Regions from separate parts of the Homo sapiens genome. Here all the other regions are linked to region 3. Evidence: promoter capture Hi-C in human tissues and cell types (Jung and others, 2019). All regions are on one chromosome and are shown on one strand. Each heading gives the region's core, a stretch centred on a gene start or on the middle of the fragment in contact. The rest is flanking DNA. Distances are from core to core; before and after follow the strand shown.

The links. Contacts are between HindIII fragments. The study calls those that stand out against the background at their distance.
Region 1: a contact is called between a fragment that was not itself captured here and the fragment with the promoter of COL18A1 in region 3, in 3 of the 25 tissues and cell types used here (dorsolateral prefrontal cortex, lymphoblastoid cells and spleen).
Region 2: a fragment that was not itself captured here is called in contact with the fragment with the promoter of COL18A1 in region 3 in 1 of the 25 tissues and cell types used here (spleen).
Region 4: the fragment with the promoter of ADARB1 here is called in contact with the fragment with the promoter of COL18A1 in region 3 in 4 of the 25 tissues and cell types used here (bladder, mesendoderm cells, neural progenitor cells and 1 more).
Region 5: a fragment that was not itself captured here is called in contact with the fragment with the promoter of COL18A1 in region 3 in 2 of the 25 tissues and cell types used here (dorsolateral prefrontal cortex and spleen).

What each region holds. Positions count from the first base shown.
Region 1 is chr21:45,842,836-45,845,583 of GRCh38, reverse strand. All of the region lies in intron 4 of PCBP3 (poly(rC) binding protein 3), which reads right to left. Among named protein-coding and RNA genes, the nearest start is that of PCBP3-AS1, 7.8 kb to the right of the region's middle. The HindIII fragment of the contact is 8,875 bases long and covers 1-2,748 here.
Region 2 is chr21:45,875,112-45,877,811 of GRCh38, reverse strand. The region is part of intron 5 of PCBP3 (poly(rC) binding protein 3); the gene reads right to left. Among named protein-coding and RNA genes, the nearest start is that of PCBP3-AS1, 40 kb to the right of the region's middle. The HindIII fragment of the contact is 8,021 bases long and covers 1-2,700 here.
Region 3 is chr21:45,403,810-45,406,509 of GRCh38, reverse strand. It overlaps COL18A1 (collagen type XVIII alpha 1 chain), which reads right to left and starts at 1,345. Exons shown (of 42, transcript NM_001379500.1): 1 at 1,269-1,345; 2 at 1,037-1,131. The coding sequence starts at 1,279. BNAT1 (breast cancer associated ESR1 regulating natural antisense transcript 1) reads left to right here and starts at 148. Exons shown (of 2, transcript NR_183526.1): 1 at 148-343; 2 at 2,014-2,700. RefSeq lists an enhancer at 1,490-2,190. The HindIII fragment of the contact is 38,297 bases long and covers 1-2,700 here.
Region 4 is chr21:45,073,307-45,076,006 of GRCh38, reverse strand. ADARB1 (adenosine deaminase RNA specific B1) reads right to left here and starts at 1,427. Exons shown (of 11, transcript NM_001112.4): 1 at 1,214-1,427. LOC105372836 (a long non-coding RNA gene) reads left to right here and starts at 2,266. Exons shown (of 5, transcript XR_937796.3): 1 at 2,266-2,534. RefSeq lists silencers at 1,474-1,673, 1,694-1,783. The HindIII fragment of the contact is 7,799 bases long and covers 1-2,700 here.
Region 5 is chr21:45,117,212-45,119,911 of GRCh38, reverse strand. The region is part of intron 1 of ADARB1 (adenosine deaminase RNA specific B1); the gene reads right to left. Among named protein-coding and RNA genes, the nearest start is that of ADARB1, 44 kb to the right of the region's middle. The HindIII fragment of the contact is 3,865 bases long and covers 1-2,700 here.

The DNA of each region.
Region 1 (2,748 bases), core at 158-2,657, 440 kb before region 3:
ACACGTGTGCACACGGGTGCTTAAGCAGCTCACACACATGCATACACACAGCAAAGGCACACACTCACAAACGTGTACACGCGGGTGCTTAAGCAGCTCACACACACACATACACAGGTGAAGGCACACACTCACACGTGTGGACACAGGTGCTTAAGCAGCTCACATGCATACACATGGCAAAGGCACACACTTACACACATGTGCACACGGGTGCTTAAGCAGCTCACAGCATTAGCCAGGCTCTTAAGAAATGGTTTCAGCTTCACCAGAAGGTTTCAAACCTCAGACAATCACAAGGCAGCATGCTGTCTCTCTGTAACATTCTCCTCATGCCTCTCAGCATCAGGGAAACCGCTTCAGACAGGAAACCATGACTTGGTAAGAGATCATCTGGTGGCAGGTGCCCCTTGCTAACCAAGGCTGGTTAAGATGAACAAAAGGCATAAGAGAGCAGAACTGTCAGTGACCCCTCCGGAGGTGGACTCCTTGAGAATCCAGGTATGGTCCTTTTAGGGAGAACAGTTTAGAAGATATTCAAGCTGATACCTTAAATCTCTGGGGTACCCAGTAAAAAAGTCTAAGAATTCATAAAAGGAAGCTTCTGATGAATGCAAAATTTTGTTCAACCTTAAATAAAGCATATATATATGTAAACTATATATATAAATAAAGCATATATATAAACTTTATATACGTATATAAACTTCATATACGTATATAAAGTTATAACTTTATATACGTATATGAAGTTTATATATAACTTTATATATATGTATATAAACTCAGACCCAGTCTTCTTCTTATGAATCTGCCTGGAGAGGAAGAAAGAAGAACCATGGTTTCATATGTACCAGAGTTTGGACCCTAACGTTGCCACTTTTGTGGGCTAACACCCAGAACTATCTCCATTCTGTCACATCTAAGATGAGGAAGCCACGCTGCCCTTGTGGTGCGCGTGGAACCATGCCGCGGGGAGCACCATTGGCAGGGAGCACCAACACACAGTGCTCACAGAGGAGCGGGGAGACCAGCCTGCCTACCATCTCCATTACTTCTGCCACACAAAATCCTCCAGCCACGCTGAATTCTACCCTGGCAGGTGTCCTGCGGCTGCAACAATGCTGGAGGGAGGGTGGAGAATGTGACCCCAGGGCTCCCTCACCTTGCGCTGGGTGACATCTGGACCATGTGAAGGGCTCTGGAGGGCAGGGCAGCACCACCCACCCCTGCCACCCAATCATAAGAGTCCTTAGGTGCTGGGGCACCTCCCACCCAACGTGTCTATGCTCCATGCAGCAGTGTGCAAGACCTCCCTAAAGTGGGGCTCTCACCAAGACGGCAAAGCATTTCCTAATGCAGTGGGTCAATCGTCCGGCTCAAAGGGCAGCCTTGGAGCTGGACAGACCAGCCCAATGAAAAACAAGCACGGCCTTGTCCGCAACCAGACTGCTGGAGCTGGGGCCTGCAATTTTGGGTAGAAACACTGAGAAGAAAGACTGAAAGAAGGTCAAGGAGAGAGACGAGCATTAATGGAGGAAGAATGCTACAAGAAGGAGCAGTGAGGTCAGAGGTCACAGGCCCCAAATCGCCCAACTGGTGGGAGATGCCAACATACCTCTCTCCTTTACAGTTCACACAAGTATACCCCACAAAAGTAATAAAGATGCAGAATATATTAACAGCACAAACAACATGATAGTGCGTATGTGTGTCTGTGTGTATATAAAACCCTGTACCTGACAAGCAGAGGTAACACATTCTCCTAAGGCTCTCAGAGAACAAAACAAAAATTGATAACGTTTTAGTTCATATTGCAGGTTTCAACAAATGTTGAAAACATGGAGTCCACAGAACATATCTCCTACTCAGTAGGCAATTAAATATCATTAGCAAAAGATAACTTTACAATTCCCTTGGACAAAACACTTTTTAAATGTTTCCAGATAAGAAATAGATGAGATCAGAAAACAGACCTCAACAATAATAAAATTATTGCATGCCAAAATTTGTAGCAAACAGCTGCAACAGAACTCACAGTAAAGTTTATAGCTTTTAAAAGGAGTAAAGAAACACAAAATTAGTGAGTCACGAATCCCATTTAAAAAGTTAGAAAAAGAACAGAAAGTATCCACAGAAAGTGGAAAGGTAATAATAAAGAAAAGTTCAGAAGTTAAGCAAAGAAACAAAGGCAACTGAGAAGATCAGTAAATATAAAATTTGGTTCTTAAAGTCTAAATAATATACAACCCTCTGATGAGATTAATCAAGAAAAACAACTGCGAAGGCACAGGGGATAGTAGTCACGTAAAGGAAGCCATGCCTTCTGGTTCTGGACAGGATGGAATAGACACCTCTCTCCCTATTCTTCCTGCTGAGCACAGCCAACAACTCTGGACATTACATGTGGAACAAACAGAAGAGAACCCTGAAAGCTGGAGGGAAGAAGGGGGACTGGCTGGGCCCTTGGGATTTGGAGAATGACACAGCGGTGAGTTCGCTATTCTTTGGGTTTCTTATTTGTTTGTTCGTTTTGTTTGTGCTTCCTCCTCTATATTTCAGACAGGGCACTGGAAAAGCAACTGAAAAATGCCAAAGGATACACACTGGAAAAAAACAGTCTCAAGAAAATTCTCTCTAGGGAAAGGGATGGGAAAGGAGGAACCTATTAGGTCAGAAAGCATCTGAGAATACCTGCCCTGCTCCATGCACAGGACAGGACGCACACAGCACCCTGCCCGGTCAGAG
Region 2 (2,700 bases), core at 158-2,657, 470 kb before region 3:
TTAATTTTTTTTTTTTAAGACGGAGTTTCACTCCTGTTGCCCAGGTTGGAGTACAGCAGCTCACTGCAACCTCCACCTCCCAGGTTCAAGCAATTCCTCCGCCTCAGCCTCCTGAGTGGCTGGGACTACAGGCGTGCCACCATCACACCCGGCTAATTTTTTGTATTTTTAGTAGAGATGGGGTTTCATCACGTTGGCCAGGCGGGTCTCAAACTCCTGACCTCAGGTGATTTGGCTGCTTCGGCCTCCCAAAGTGTTGGGATTACAGGCGTGAGCCATTGCACCTGGCCATTTCATCTTTATATTGATTAAATTGGCAAAATCTGTTTAAAACTGGTACCACTATAAATTCTGATAAATTTGCCAGTTACTCTTTTTTTAAAAAAATATTCAAATCAACAGAATGCTAGTAAAATGAATACTGCCCTAGTAAGAAGTGATGTGTAATGAAACAGCGGCCACACAGGGCCACAGCCCCATGTTTTTCCATATATAAATCCAGGCTGTCCTAACACAGTAGGGCGAGCTCTTCCTCCGTTTTACACGAGGTGACACAGTGCGATGACCCTGAACTGTGACCAGCTGGCTCCAGGCCTAGGTTCCCGACCACCAGAGAGGTAATCCATCATCTATTTTCATGCCAAAAATAACAGTGAATGACATCCCGTCAGACCCGAAAGGAAGAGACCCACGTTTGAAAGTGTCATGTGAGGCCCAAGTTGTAAGGCTTGTTTGCTGGGGGATGGATGAATAGGTTTGGATATTAACATAGAGATGCCTTGGAGTGTAGAAGGGCGGTCACACAGCTGTGAGTGCGGCTGGCAGCAGGCGCCTTGAGCTCTCTCCTGTGTGCCACTGCTTGCCCCGAGAAGGCGGGAGAAGCCTTGCCAGCAAAGCGCCATCTGGGGTCCTCGCAGCCGCAGCGAGCGCTGTCGCAGCCAGCGGCTCTGGCCATACCCCCGTTAGCTGTGCTCTGTCCAGGGCTGCACTCACGGCCTCAGCTGTCTGGGGGATGTGACTGTGGGAGGGAACACAGTGCGGGGTGGGTGGCAGCAGCCCCTACTTGATTTATCCTGTTTAACAGCTCAGTGCCTGCATCAGGCTGCACGAGGCCAGGACGGCGGAAATGACAGGGCAGATTAGCTGCCACATTCTCCTTGAGAGCCTCACATGCACTTCATGTCCCTGAGGCTACCCAGGGCAGGGGAGGCTTCTGGAATTTCATGCTCCTGCCTGTCACAGGCGGCATTCGGAGGCCATCCAGGGCTTACACAGCCTGGCCTCGGCGAGCATTCTGAACAGCCTGCTCCCCTGCTACTCAGCGTCAAGGCAGACAAAGGTGCCAGTGGGGAACAGTGACCGCTCACCTTCCCCTGCTCCAGCGGCCCAGCCACACTGGTCTCATGTCTGGAAGATGCTGAATTTTCCTGACCATAGCCAGGCTCCCTCATGGTGCCAGTGTTCCTTAGTCCCACCTTTGGGAACCACGTAAGAGTGTGCCTCCTACAAATGTTCCAATTCTTTCAAATGCTCATTTCGGGATTCGTAATATCTCTGATGAGAGACAGGGTAGGCCACCCTGAGAGCTGAGTCAAGTCTGGGCTCTGACACTGTCCTGGCTGTGATGGATGCACGTGGACTCGCCTGCCTAAGGGCAGGTTCTGGCCCCTGACCGCTCCATCGGTGCCCTGGTGCTGCACACAACATCTCAGGCTCCACGGGCCCTCTAGTCTTAGTGGGAAGCTGAACGCAGCAGGGACATCCTACTGGCCCATGAAAAAGGGTCCAGCGGGAACATTCCTCACCCCACACCTTTCCTCAGTTCCCACACGGCACCGGGGATGCGGGGCCATGGGCACAGCCATTGTCTGCAAGTGGCTCACAGTCTGGTGGAGAAATTGGCTGTGGGCTGGAGCAGTGGGGGATCCAGACAGCCGAAAATCAACATCGGATCCCACCTCGCCCTCAAATGTGTGTCCTATATAGGTGAAAGATCCAGAAGTGAACAGTAGAAGTTTAACCCTCTTGGAAGGAAGCAAAGGTCAACCTCCCTGTAGCCTCAGGGTCAGTGGGCATGAGGAGGAGAGGCTGCGAATGAGCGGTACTTCCCAGCTCACTGGGAGGGCATCAGAGACAGTATCTGTCCTGCTCTCGCCCTGGACAGGGAGGGACGTCACCCTGGCCATTGCTGGTAGATGTCCCAAGACCCCTGGGGGAAGCTGGTGTGGGCAGGCTGAGCCAGGGGGAAGCAGAGGCACTGCAGCCTGCCAGAGTGGCCCCAACTGACTCTGCACTTTCCCAGGAGCCCAGTAGCAGACCTGAGTTTTTAATCGAATTTGAGTTTTCTGACGTTGTGTGACTTGACCCAATGCATCCCCATGGTGCAGGGGGTGAAAAGCAGCAGCAAGGCGAGTACTGGGCCTGCTGACCCCACAGTTTACTGGAAAAGATAATCCCAGGATGTGGCAACCTGGAACAGCTGCCAGCACATGTGCAGCAGAGAGTCAGCCGCAGCACGCAGCACGGAGGGGCCCCCAGCCCCAGTGAGTCAGCCGGAGCGCGCAGCACGGAGGGGCCCCCAGGCCCGGTGAGTCAGCTGGAGCGCGCCGCGTGGAAGGGCCCCCAGCCCCGGTGAGTCAGCCGGAGCGCGCAACATGGAGGGGCCCCCAGCCTGTCTGGCTGCCGCTGGACGCCCTGAGC
Region 3 (2,700 bases), core at 96-2,595:
ACTCAACAAGCAGGTGTTTTCAATACATCTACTTATAAGCTAGCTACTTTTTTGAAAGGTCTATGCTACTATTTAACCTGGTGACTAAGTCGATTGGAAACAATGAAACAAATTATTACAGGAATCCAGACGACATCCCTCCCTCCCCCTTTCCTGCTTCCTCACCCGCTGTAGCAAGCAGGTGTGGAGTCGAGTCGGAGGCAGGCGCTGGCTGCGTGGACCCCCGGGTGGGATTCCACCCGCGACAAGGCACCCAGGCCCTTTGGGCGGGGCTCCCCTGGGGTCCGCGTCCCCGCCGCCTCCCCCGGGCCTCTGCTGGGCTGGCTGGAGGCAGGAGGCCCCGGTTAGCAGGTGGTGGGGAACTGGGTCCCGGGGTTGGAGGCAGGAAGGTCCCCACGGGCCCCGCGCACCGTTTGCCGCGCACGGGAAGCGGCGAGGCCGGCGGGGCAGCGGCTTCTGGGCATTGTTCTCGGACCGCGCGGCGCTCGGTTGGCATCAAAGGGGACCGCGCAACCCGACACCACGGCGGGCGCGGGGACAGAGGCCTGAGGGCGGCGGGGACAGAGGCGCACAAGGCCCGGCCCGCGGCGAGGAGCCTCAACAGGTTGGAAACGCGGAGACGACGCCCCGCGCTCCGCCGCCTTCCGCCCGCGGTCAGTCCCGGGACCCGGCGCTGCGGGGACGAGGCCGTGACGGCGACAGAGGCCGCGTCTCCCGAGACCCCGCGGCCCCGCCCCGAGCCCTCCCGGCACCGACGACCCCGCCGGCCGCGGAGGTTCGGTCCCCGCGCGGGGACTCCGGCCGCTCGCACCGCGCACCCCTCCCGGCCCGGACCCCGCGGGGAGAATGAATGGGCGGGACTCCGGCCACCCCGCCCCGCTCCGTCCGGCTCCGGCGCCTCCTGCGCGCGTGGGCAGGGCCGGGGCTGAACCCAGAGCGGCCGGGGCGGGGGTGAGGGAGCCGGGCGGGGACCCCAGCCAGGGCGGCGAGGCCGGCGGGCACCGGCGCGAACCTTCCCGTCCCGCCCGGGTCTTACCTGGCTCCGCGGAGGCCGCGCGGACCCCGAGCAGCAGGACCAGGGGCGCGAGCACGTCCAGGAGGCGCCGCCGCCGCGGCCATGGCCAGGGGCACCTGCGCGGGACAGGCACGGGTCAGACCCCGCAGGACCCCCGCGACCCCCGCAGGACCCGGCCGAGCCCCGCGACCCCCGCGACCCCCGCAGCCGCATCTTGGCGTCCCCCAACCCCTGCCCGCAGCCCCGGCCTCACCTCGGCGCCATGCTCTCCCCAGGACCGTCAGCGCCGCGGGATGCTGCCTCCTCCGCCGCGGTGCACCCGCTCGGACCGCCGCGCTGCAGCCGCCGCCGCTGGGAGGCCGGGCAGGGGGCGGGCAGGGGCCGGGCAGGGGCCGGGCAGGGGGCGGGGCGGGCGCGGGCAGGGGGCGGGCGCGGGGCGGGGCCGGGCAGGGGCCGGGCAGGGGGCGGAGCGACGAGCAGGGCAAGGCCCGGGGAGGGGAGAGGGGGGCGGGCGCCGCAGCGGACCTGCGGCTGCGAGGACGGGGCGGGCCGGGACCCGGGGGCGGCGGGGACGGGCGAGGACGGACGGGGACACGTCCCGCCCCGAGGGAACCGCCCGAGGCTGCGACCCAGCACAGGGCCCGGGGGCTGCCCCGCGAGGAAGCCCAGGTTTATGCGGAAGGTGAACACCGCTGCCCGCCGGGCTACGACCCCAGCCCCTGAGTCCGGTGGGGCAGCGGGAAGGGGGGAGATTTGAATAGAGTCACCGCGGGGGGGACGGGACGGAGGAGGAAGCCGGCACCTCCGGCCCGCAAGGCCCCTGCAGGGTCCTGCCCCGGCTGCACGGAGGGACGGACGCGAGACAGGAGGGGCGTGCGAGGGCCAGATCTGTCCCCAGGTCCCCCTGTTCCCAGGGCGCGGCCCAGCAGAGCCTCTTCCTCCCCAGTTCCCAGGCTCCTCCTCCCTCCCAGGTGAAAACCCTGTTTCTATTTCTTCAGGGCCAGCATCCTGAGCCCCACCTGCAGGCCCTGGGCGCTTTCCTCCTGGCAGCTGTGCCCCCACCCGACCGGACCGCTCCCTGCAACCAGAGAGCCCTCACACCAGCAACACCCCCCAGCCTGCTCCCTCCTCGTGTGCGCGAAACTCATGGCACTGGCTTGACGGCTTTCTCTGAAACCCTCTGATTCCGCCTGGCCCATCCACACTGTCCCTTCCCGGCCAGGGCTCATCTCCTATGCCTGGACCAAACAGCGTAGTCTCCAGTCTCCCTGATCTCCCCACACGTGGCCCCACCCATCCTCTGAAGCAGCCCCAGGAGGCAGCAGTGACTTCACACTTCTAGTGCCCGGCCCTCCCGGCCCTCCTCTCTGGGCTTGCTTGCCAGGGTCCTCCCAACCTGACTGCTGCCTCCCACCTCCTCTCCGCCCCTGGAGCTCTCCAGCCGCAGCCGCGGGGCCTGCTTGGGATTCTCCTCTGCTGGCATCATCCCTGCCTGCCTCAGCCTTCCCAGGCCCAATCCTGCCCGATCTCACCTCTTCCCGCCCAGCCACCTGGTCGGGTCCCGACCAGCATCTGCCTTCAAACCTGGAGTCCTTCCCTGAGTGCTTGCGGTGCACTGTGAGGAAGGAAATCAATGTAAAGGATTATGACCCACATTTTTTAAAAATAAAAAGATTAAGGAGAAC
Region 4 (2,700 bases), core at 178-2,677, 330 kb after region 3:
CAAAATTTAAGAGGAAACAAAGAGGATTAAATACATATTTGTATTCTCAATTAAAAAAACTACGGTTCTATCATCTTAATTATGGAGTTAAACGTTAAAGAAACAAGTTTGATATCATGCCACTTTTCGTTATACTTCGAGAACGGAATGCAATAATGGTTAGTAAGAAGGAAGTAAAATGCCTGTATCAGAAGTAACAGCCCAAACCTGCTGACCAAAAATATTAACTGGGAACTAAACACCACGGTGCAGATCTCCGACATAGAAACCTGGACAGGAACACGTTTTAGGTTAGGTTTTCCAGCGTGTAAATCGGGACTCCAACACGTTTCAGCGTCCACAGCCCAATCTGACACCTTCCCTCGCACCCATCCACCACGCAATAATTTTCCTTCTGATGTGAACACGTCAAAAGTCACCTCGGGCCCCCAACTGCCCCAGATTGCTCCCGATCGCTGCAGACGCCCGGCACCCGCAGGAACTTCCCTGGCCCGGGCCGCCCGCGGCGCAGAGCATCCCGCGCGGACACTGCGCCCTCGGAAGGACACGCAGGACCGTCCAGGGCGCAGACTCGTCCCCAACGCAGTCTCCACTCCCGTGGCACAGCGTCCCCTCCCAAGGCAGCCTCCCCTGCCCGGGCCCAGCCTCATCCCGGGCGCAGCCTGCCGTCCCCCGGCGCAGCGTCCCATGCCGGGCGGAGCGTCTCCCCAGGGACATAGCCTACCGTCCCCAGGCGCAGCCTTGTTGCCAACGCAGCCTCCCGTTCCCCGGCGCAACCTTGTACCCGGGGCAGCCTCTGGTCCCCGGGCGCAGCCTCGTCCCCAGCGCAGCCTCCGATCTCCAGGGCACACCGTCCCCTCCCCAAAACGCAGTCTCGGTCCCCAGGGCGCAGCCTCGTCCCGGCGCACCTGCCCTCCCCGCGGCGCAGCGCGGCGCATCCCACGCGGACTCGGCGCCCTCGGGAGGGGACGCGGGGCCGCCCGGGCGCAGCTTCCTCCGGGAGCCGAGCGCCGGAGCAGACGGGCGACCCAGGAGGGTGGGTGCGAGGCGGTGCCGCGGCACCCTCGCTTCTCCGCGGGCGCCCTCCGCTCCCGGGACGGCCCGCAGCTCCGGCCCCACCACCAGTCCCTGCCCGGCGCTTACATAAACGCCGCCACCGCGGGGTCCGGAGCCCGCGCCCGCCCGAGCCGCCGCGGCCCCGCGCCGCCCTCACCTCAGCCGCAGCCGCGCCGCGCCTGGTCCTCCGCACGCGCGCCCCACGCTTCGGCCGCAGTCTCGCGCCGGGCGGCGCTCTGCCTCGTTGGTTGTGCGCAGCGGCGCGGCGTGGCCGTGGCCTCGCGCGGCCCGGAGCCCCGGCCGCCAACCTGGCCGCTTGGCCGCCGCTGCCGCCGCCGCCGCCGCCGCCGCCACGGCCGCCTCAGCGCCTCAGCCCCGCCGCCGGCGGCTCCGCCCCCTCCCCGCCCCCGCCGGCCCGCCGGGCGCGCGCACGCCGAGGGGGCGGGGGCGGCGCAGCGACGCCGGACGTGCGCGCGCTGGGGCGCCCGTGTCTGTCGTGGGCAGCCGGAGCTGTGGCACCTCCCTCACGACCACCTGCGGCGGACGGGCGCGGGGCCGTTGGGGCTGGAGCGCGGCCGGAGCTGAGAGACCGCGGCTGGGCGGCTCCGGAGCGTGGGGCGAGAGCGCGGGACCGGCCTGGCGTCGCGGCGCCGCCCGCCCGAGCGCGGCTGAGGAGACTCTGCCCGCCTTCGTTTTGGGGACGGGGTCTCACTGTCGCCCAGACTGGAGCGCGGTGGACCTCCGAGCTCACGCGATCCTGCCGCCTCAGCCTCCCTGGTAGCTGGGACCGCAGGCGCCCGGCGATTGGCGTTTGCGTTTTGCGGAGGTGGCGTCTCGCGGTGCTGCCCAGGCTCCCGGGCCCCCGCGCTCCTCCCTGCAGCGGGCGCTGCCCCCGCCGAGCCCCCGCCGAGCCCCCGCCGAGCCCCCGCCGAGCCCCCGCCGAGCCCCCGCCGAGCCCCCGCCGAGCCACCCCTGCTTCTCCCTCTCCCGGAGTTGCCTGGGACACGCGGGTCCCGCCGGCCCCCTCTCCCCGCCCGTCATCCTCACTGTAGACTCCGGGAGAACCAGGTCGCGGCCCAGGACCCTGGCTGGACACGGTTCCCGCCGTCTCCTGTTTAGTCCGCACTGACACTAGCAGCTGCTCCAGTTACCAACGTTTAGGTGATGGTGGTTTTGTTTGATTTTTTTTGTTTGTTTGTTTGTTTTAGGTTGATAGTAAAAGCATTTTTTTATAGCATATGCAATAGACCTACTCTTCGATTTATCTATATTTACTGACTGTTCCACAGTTATACCAAGAAATGTTTACACAGATGATGATAAGCATATGTAGAAATGCAACGTTTTCACTGACCGGAATAACCAGCTCCAGGCTGCAGTTCTCTGCACGAAGATAAAGTTTGATAGGCAAACTTGGCAGCTCCTGACCGCGGCGACCTGAGCCCAGAGGAGCAGCCGGGGGCGGTGGGCAGAGCCAGGTGTGGACAAGCGGGTGGGTCCCGCACCTGGGTGGGGGAAGCGGCAGGTTCCAGGGTCAAATTGAGGTTGTACTAGCCCTGGCCTCCAAACCTCAGGCGGCCCACTCTGCCCTCGGCCTCTTTCCTCCCTTGTAAAGTGGGGAGTAAGAGACCATCGCAAGCCAGG
Region 5 (2,700 bases), core at 9-2,508, 290 kb after region 3:
TTATAATGGATTTCAATTACCAACACTCTTGCTTTTATCATTTCGATGTCCATTTTCTCATGTTCACAGCAGTTTAATGTGGGCTGTCTGGGTATATACCACGATGACAATTCATAGTTTCAGGAGCCATGATTTTTCAACAACTTATAAGTACCCTAAGTCATCTCCGTCTTTATTTCGAAACAGATGTATAGAACCTCCTCTAAATTCTGATGCAGCAGTAACATTTTATTTGTTGGTGATGTGCTGATTAAGAGTATATGAAATTTAACTAACTTGCAACACACCATCAAGGCAAGTGTAACAAAGTTACCCAGCTATTTTTAAGTTTATGGCCACACTCTTACATAGTAAAGAACAACACGTCTCATAAGAACTTCTGTATCAAAAGTACCTAAACTGGTTCATTTAATTTCATCCCGATTCTTTGATAATGTTGAGTGATATTTCCACTGGAGAGCAAGAACAGCTACTGGTAAAGGTGACCAAGGCACTAATTTTGCCACTGAGAGTGATCTAAAAAGGCTTTTAGGCTAGGCACAGTGGTGTGCTCAGCACTTTGGGAGGCCAAGGTGGGAGGATGGCTTGAGCCTAGGAGTTCGAGACCAGTCTGGGCAACACGGCAAGACCCCACCTCTACAAAAAATTTAAAAATTAATCAGTCAATGTGGCACGTGACTGTGGTCCAAGCTACTCAAGAGGCTGATAACAGGAGTATTGCTTGAGCCCAGAAGGTGGAGGCTGCAGTGAGCCACGATCACACTACTGCACTTCACCCTGGGTGACAGAGCGAGACCCTGCCTCTAAATTAATTAATTAAAAGGGCTTTTAATTAAAAATGGTGATAAAGTACACCATATCTTCTCTCCATTCTTCCCAGAGCTCTGTTAAAATGTCAGAAAAGGTACTTTTTGGTGGTGAATGAACCATAATAGTGCACGGTGCTAAAAATTTACAGAGGGATTTAGCAGAACACAAGAAAGCCTGCCAGGGCTTTTAGGGCATAAGGCAGACGAAAGCAGGTTGATGCGAGAGAGCAGAGGAAACTGCAGAGCAAGACAACAGAGGTGAGGGGTCTTCCCAAGAAGCAGGAGCCATAGGGAACGCTTTTATTCCTGGGCTGAAACCTGAGAATCGCTCTCCAAAGAAAGCCTGAGGTTTTCTAAGGGGTGATCCCAATATGGGCACGCGGGCTGGAAGAGAAGCAGATCCGGGTTTAGGGTAACGAAAAATCAAACCGTCAGGACATGAAGCCCAGGGAGGGAGAGAAGGAGAGAGTAGAAGATGTTTACCTGCAGTAGAACAAGGATCAAACGGATATCCAACTTCTCATTACCAACACTAGACTCTGGAAAATAATAGAGAATATTTTCTGATTTCAAAAGGAAAATTATACGATCCTAGAATTCTAGACCCTACCAAATTATCAATAAGTATGAGAACAAAGTAATTGCATGTTTGAACATTACGTGCAAAAACCCAAGAAGTCTGTCAGCCATCCATTCTATAAGGAAGTGAATTAAGAAGTCTGTCAGCCATCCATTCTATAAGGAAGTGAATTAAGAAGTCTGTCAGCCATCCATTCTATAAGGAAGTGGATTAAGGAGGTGCTCCAGCAAAACAAAAATAGAATCCAAGAAACCAACACCATGGGATAGGAGAAACCATGGCAACTGAGGCAGCTAGAAACAGCGGACACCTAAAGAGAAACTGGGAGTTCCATCTGAATATTCTCCTTTTATTGGCAAAGGTTTGGTGAGGCAGAATTACATTTCATACCACTTGGTTCTATGGCAAAATATACTATCATAATACTATAAATGTTACTTTTCTTATATTAAAATGTTTAGACTACACTTGCAGGAAAAGCACAGGGAGCCTAATGATAGATGGGAAACACTACAAATGTTTTAAGCCTTGTCAATATAAATCTCATCAAAACTCAGAGTGTGAAGGCACTGTTGACTTCCACATGAACTCACAAACAGAAAAGTTAAAGCTATAATGGTGACTACAAGAAGAACTTAAGAGAAGAAAACACAAACTGTACATTGTTTACCTCTGGAAACGGGGCATGGGGTGGGGAGGGAGAAAGAGGAAATCTCCAACTTAATTTATACCCATTCATGAGCTGCAATGTGTTTTTTACCATGTGCTGGTATTACTTCCATTTTTTAAAATAGTTACATTAAAAGGGCCCCCTTATCAATAGCTGATCCATTAAATAACTGCAGTACATCTATAGGACAGAATAATATGTTCTTGTAACAAGTGAAGTAGCATGAGCATTGCGTTAGTTATATAAAGTCAGAATTTTAAAGAAGCTTTTTTTTTTTTAACTGTGAAAGAACAAAGATAAAGTGTCACAGTCCTACGAAGAGAACGGCACTACCTGTACTGACATGCAGGATGTGACGGGACAGCTGCGTTATAGAGAGATGTGCACAGAAAACCCCTGTGTATCTCAGAAATCCCATATACATAACAGAAACTCCTCATCTATTATATATGCCAGAATCCAGTGCTGACACAAACTAGTGGGTACGTACCCTTCCATATTTTTCCTATGTACACACACACAACATTTTGTAAGCCTAAAAAGCTGGCACAAAAAGCAAACCAACTTCACAAGGACAAGCCAGAGAGTCCTTGGGGGATGTCCTCCCAGGAAACTCAAAACAGCAGCGGCTAGGTCTCCCT